2 separate regions of the Homo sapiens genome follow, and region 1 is linked to region 2. Evidence: promoter capture Hi-C in human tissues and cell types (Jung and others, 2019). All regions are on one chromosome and are shown on one strand. The core of a region is centred on a gene start or on the middle of the fragment in contact, and the rest is flanking DNA. Distances in the headings are between cores, read along the strand shown.

Region 1 (2,993 bases), core at 72-2,571, 130 kb after region 2:
CAAAATGAACCTGGCCTAAGATGCTGCTTCCACTATCAAAGAGAAAAGAAACTCAAAATTCAAGCAGACATGTTTCTGCTTTTTCAGTTTTGCTAGTAGTAAATCCTTTTTAATCTCTCTCTCTTTAAAGATCCCAACCAACCCAAGAAGTCAAGACAAAATCACCTGAACACTCAATCCATCCTTAAAATTCTAGCAAAATCATCTGGGATTTGGGAAGGGAGAAAACAGTGATTCATCCTCTTTCCCACATTTTCACTAAGGATTCTTAAGCATTAGGATAGAAATTCAATCATATCGCAACAATCATTATAAAGACACTTTTACCAGTATTAGTCATACTTCTTTCTGTTACATTTATAACCTGCATTCTAAGCCTCCTCCATCTCCTAAAACTCCCAAATCTACAACAACCTTGAGTAACGCCCGATCCCTAGAATCAAGGGTGAATCACTGTAATGATAATAAAAACTGGCAATTTATCCTACAGTTAAAAAATACAACTATTAACAACGGTTTTCCCTGGGAGGAAGACTTTAAGGAATACTTTAACTTTCCTTGTATTTCAGCTAGTGAAAGCATTTAACAAATACATAAAGAGCACAGCCCTATGTCAGAATTAGAAGTAGGAAAAAAAGAAAAGAAAAAAAAAACCTCCCTTACGGAGCATAGTCTAGATCTGCACTACTTTGGCCATTTAAAGTTAAACTAATAATAATAAAAATTTTAAATTTAGTTTCTCAGCCCCACTAGCTACATTTCAAGTAGCAACACGTGACTGGTGGTTACCATAATGAATAACACAGAAAGTTATATTAGACAAGGCTGATGTAAAAGAAGACCTGATGCTAATTCAACCTTGGAAACAGAGAGGAGGCATTTGAAATGAGCAGCATTAAGGCAAGCACTCCAGGACGGACGACGACAACATAAACCACTGGCCTCCCTGCAGCATCATGCAGTACCCAATCTCCAAGGCTCTTCCCCGAAGTCAAAAGCAAAATACTTCAAGGAGGCATTAGAGAAATGAAATGGGTGACAGGCTTTGATTGTACTTTAAGATAAGCTTAATACCCTAAAATTTAAAAATCACATTATAAAAATCTATTTATAGCTGGGTGCAGTGGCACACACTTGTAGCCCCAGCTACTCAGGAGCCTGAGGCGGGAGGATTGCTTGAGCCTGGGAATTCGAGTCCAGCCTGGGCAACATAGTGAGAACTCATCTCTAAAAAGGTAAAAATTAAAAAAATTAAGATTAAAAAAATCCAATTAGGACCTCACTAAAAATAAAAAGGTGGAGGGGAAAATGGAACTGGAATTAACTGCTAGATCATTCTGGAAATCTTTAACAAGTAAGCTAAACTAGAGATCAAGAAGACAAACCAAAGAATGTACTATGCCCATCCAAATACCTTCCCGTGAGAGAAACATTTCCCAATGATCAAGGTTAGTATATGAAATCACCGGCATTAACCCCACATTAATAAAAACAAGTAGGGCCAGAGAGAGAGGAGGGAGGTGGGCAGAAGAGAGAGCACACAAACCCAGACCAGTACTTTCTAAGTGGGGGTAATTTATTATTCTCCTTCCTCTGAATCCTTAGCTTACATCACCTAGCATGCATGGCCTGTTTCCTATTCTGAGTAATGGGTACAAGGATAGTACCTACTTCATTGGGTTGTTATGTGGATTCCTTGAGTTAATACATGTAAAGTACATAATACAGTGCCTGGCATATAGAAAAGATTAAGGAAATATTTGCTATTATTATTGCAAGAGTCACAAACTATCTCTGAGGATCTGGTCTCACTTGTCCAAAAGTAAAATGATTTCCCTAAGGGTGAGTTCACAGGGGAATGAGATGTTGTGTTGACTATAAGAAGGGGCGCTTTTCAAAAGTCCAATCCATCCTAAGCTGAAACACCTTCCAATTATGTCCTATGGATTATTATTCATAATGCCCAAAGCCATGGGGACAGCTGAAAGAACTTCCGCAAGCTTTAGGATTTAGATATAGACCCCTGGGCCAGGCACAGTGGCTCAAGCCTATAATCCCAACACGTTGGGAGGTCAAGGCAGGAAGATCACTTGAGGCCAGGGGTTTGAGACCAGCCTGGGCAACATAGCAAGATCTCATGTCTACTAAAAATTTTAAAAAGTAGCCAGGCATGGTGGGTGCGCACCTGTAGTCTCAGCTGAGGCAGGAGGATCATTTGAGCCCAGAAAGTCGAGGCTGTAGCAAGCCATGATCATGCCACTGCACTCTAGCCCTTAAACCTGTAATCTTAGTACTTTGGGAGGCCTACGCGGGGGAATTGCTTGAGCCCAGGAGTTCAAGACCAGCTGGGGCAACATGGCAAAACTCCATCTCTACAAAAAAAATACAACATGGTGGCACATGCCTGTAGTCCTAGCTATTAGGGACACTGAGATGGATCATCTGAGCCCAGGAAGTCGAGGCTGCAGTGAGCTGTGAGCATGCCACTGCGCTCCAGTCTGGACAAGAGACCCTATCTCAAAAGGGGAAAAAAAAAAAAAAAAAAAAAAAGGATATCATCATTATTTTATAGATGAGAAAACTAAGGCCCCAAAAAGTTAAACAGCTGGCCTGTGGCAGTTTTCCTCAGTTTATGTTTAAAATGAGAATTATAAGTATATACCTACATATGTCCCTATAAGGCAGCTAGTTTCCTTGGGAAGGGATATCCTTTATTCTGAAGTTAGATCCTTTTTGTTGTTGTTGTTTTTGTTGCCCAGGCTGGAGTGTAGTTGGCACAATCATTGCTTACTGTAGCCTCCAACTCCTGGGCTCAAGTAATCCTCCTGCCTTCGCTTCCAAAAGTGTTGGGATTACAGATGTGAGCCACCATGGCCAGCCTAGATCCTACTTTTTATGAAATAATGGTGGGAATAATTTTTCTTTTTTAAATTCTCTCCTTGACAAAGCTAAAAACTAGTAAACTCGTATAGGCATACTATGTTTTTTTGAGA
Region 2 (2,831 bases), core at 326-2,825:
TGGGAAGGAGGAGGAAGGGCGAGAGATTAAAGATGTTGGGCGTGAATTCTGAGGACCGGGACTAGAAGCAGAACGCAGGGGACCGGGCTCAGGACGGTAGTTAACTCAAGGTAAGACCTTCTAGCCCTAAGGGGCGGGTCAGGGAGCTGGGTGTGAACTGCCCCTTGGCACGGGGACAGAACATCGGGTGTGAATTGGACCCGGGGGGGGGCCCGCGGCCAGGGGGGCGGGGCTTTGCTCACCACGGTCCGGACGGCGCCTTGACCATCAGCCCGGGTAGAAAGTCCCAGGGGACGCTGGCGCCGCGGCCTCCCACGCATTTGACCTCGCTTCCGCCGCCACTGCCGGGATAGGGGGCCGCCATCTCCGGGGGGCTCGCTCAGGCGGGCTCCGAGCCCCGAGTCTCCTGCAGCGGGAGGGGGCCAGGGGCAACGCTTAGTGCCCTCGGGAGACCTTCTAGGGAAACTGAGATCCGTGCAGGGCTCAGGGTCCCAGCAAGGAGCTGGGGGGGGGGGGGCCTGGATGATGCCTCAGTTTCCCCTACCTGGAGGCCTCAGCTCCCACCCTAGCCGGCCCGGGGCTGGCGCTCCGGGTGAGGACGTGCCCCGCCGCCGCCTCCCCCGCGCCGCCCGCCAGCGCGCCCGCCTCACGCCCGCGCCGGGCCGGCTCCCGCATACCAATGGGCGCACGCGGCGCGCATACGGATCGAACCGGCCCGCGCGCTGCGTGCCAAGCATGCCCAAGCCGGGCGGGGGGCGGGCGCCTCCCGGGCCAGGCACGCACGCCCCAGCCCCCGGAGCCCTCTGCCCCGAGGACCCGCCCCCCAAGCCCATCCCCGGTGTCTGACTCCCCGGATCTGCACCCTGTTTTCCCGGCTGGGCTAAGGAGGCAGGGGGCAGAGGGCAGGGACCCCCATCCTGTGTCCTGCCCAGGGATCCCCCCAGCCTCTCGGGATGGCGCCACGTGTTCGGACCGCCACATCCCCACGACCACAACTTCCTCCCTGAAGACCCCGGCGCGCGAGCCCCAGCCCCGGACGCAGCCGCCGCAGCCTCTGCCCCAGGACGCCCCCAGGATTGACCCGACACTCGGGGCCCAGGTGTCCTGGTCTCCTGATCCCCTAACGTTTTCAGTTAGGTCTTCATTCCTCCAGGACCAGGCGTTCAGAACACCCCCTAACCCCAGGAACCAGGCCGCCCCCAAACCTCCCAGCCAGGTGTCCAGATGCCCCAGACCCCCGTGTCCAGGTCTCCCAACCCCAGATTTCTCCAGGACTCAAACATCCGTGCGCCCCTTCCCCCAGGCTCGGGATACCCTCGTCCCACCCCCTATCCCCCAGGACACTGGAGTTCCAGCCCCCCATTCCTCTGGGACCCAGAAGTCCCCCTCCTGCCAGCCCGCAAGCTTCCCCTACCCGCAGGACCGCCAGTCCGATTACTTGGCCGCAGAGCAGGCTCCGGGCGCGGCGTGGGGCCGGCCGGGCGGCGCGGAGGGGCAGCTCCATAGACCCCGGGGCGCGCGGGGCGCAGCGGGACGCGCGGGCTGTGGCGCCCAGCTCTCGGCGCCCACCTCGGCCTCGCAGACTTGGAGACGCGCGACCAGCGCTGCGGGCGGGGGCGGGGTCTGCCGGAGCCCCGCCCGCCGCGTCTCCGCCCCCGGACCCGCCCTGCTCGCCTTTCCCTGGTAGGGGGCCAAGCTACCCTGGGGTCCGAGTTCCCTTGCCCCACGGTAACGTCGGGGGTCAGAATGTAGCACCTCGGATCGGAGCTACCCCACTCCAAAAGGGGAACAGCGGAGTCCGGGCACTGTCTACACCCCTTCAGGAGGCAGTTAGTGCCCCAGCAGCCCCTCGGGACAAGACAGGTACCCTGCAGCCGAGCCCCATGTACGAGTGAAGACTCACGTCAGTGCTTCCTCCAGGGACACAAATCCAGAATTCGAGACCCTCCCTTTCCGGGAGAGAACTCCTGAGTGTCAGCACACTCTCCCCCCACAGGGCTGGGACTTCGCATCCAAACCCAACCCGCCTTAAAAGGGGGACATACACCTCCCTCGTCAGGGACCAGGATCCAGCTCTCTAAGGAGCTCCAGAGACCAGGATCCTGGCGTCTTATCTCCATCCCCCGCCGCAGGGACGGGAACCCTTACATCCAAGCTCCCCATTAGATCATAAATGGGAACTCAGGGGTTGTAGTACCTCGCACAGAGGACGGGAACCCAGGCGTCCAAGCCAGGCCTTCCCCAGTCTGATAGGAGGTCCTACAGTTCCCCTAGCTCCTTCTCTCCATGCAGCCCCCACTTCCCGTTCTCAGGGTCCTCCCTGGCATGGGGGTCTCCAGGCACTTAAAAGCCTCTACATGACCTTAACATGGGGAAAGAAAATGGAGCTGGGGCCGGGCGCGGTGGCTTACACCTATAATCCCAGCACCTTGGGAGGCCAGGGCGGTTGGATCACCCGAGGTCAGGAGTTCAAGGCCAGCCTGGCCAACATAGTGAAACCCTGTCTCTACTAAAAATACAAAAATTAGCCGGGTGTGGTGGTGGGCGCCTGTAATCCCAGCTACTCGGGAGGCTGAGGCAGGAAAATCCCTTGAACCTGGGAGGCGGAGGTTGCAGTGAGCCGAGATCCCGCCACTGCGCTCCAGCCCGGGTCAGAGAAGGAGAGTCCATTTCGAAAGAAAAGAAAAGAAAAAGAAAATGGAGCAGGGAGTCTTAGAAGAGGCATACAGTCAGGGGCTTGCAGGGAGCACGCGCTGGCCTTTGGTTGGGCAGATGGGGAAACTGAGGCACACACAAACACCCGTGTGCATTTGCTCACAACACACAAACTC

The links. The method cuts DNA at HindIII sites, captures the fragments that hold promoters and counts their contacts. A contact is called where the count stands out against the background at its distance.
Region 1: a fragment that was not itself captured here is called in contact with the fragment with the promoter of NPAS1 in region 2 in 1 of the 25 tissues and cell types used here (dorsolateral prefrontal cortex).

The regions. Positions count from the first base shown.
Region 1 is chr19:46,884,051-46,887,043 of GRCh38, reverse strand. The region is part of intron 1 of ARHGAP35 (Rho GTPase activating protein 35); the gene reads right to left. Among named protein-coding and RNA genes, the nearest start is that of ARHGAP35, 25 kb to the right of the region's middle. The HindIII fragment of the contact is 4,791 bases long and covers 1-2,993 here.
Region 2 is chr19:47,018,581-47,021,411 of GRCh38, reverse strand. It overlaps NPAS1 (neuronal PAS domain protein 1), which reads right to left and starts at 1,575. Exons shown (of 12, transcript NM_002517.4): 1 at 1,415-1,575; 2 at 243-406. The coding sequence starts at 364. RefSeq lists a silencer at 1,579-1,638. The HindIII fragment of the contact is 24,576 bases long and covers 559-2,831 here.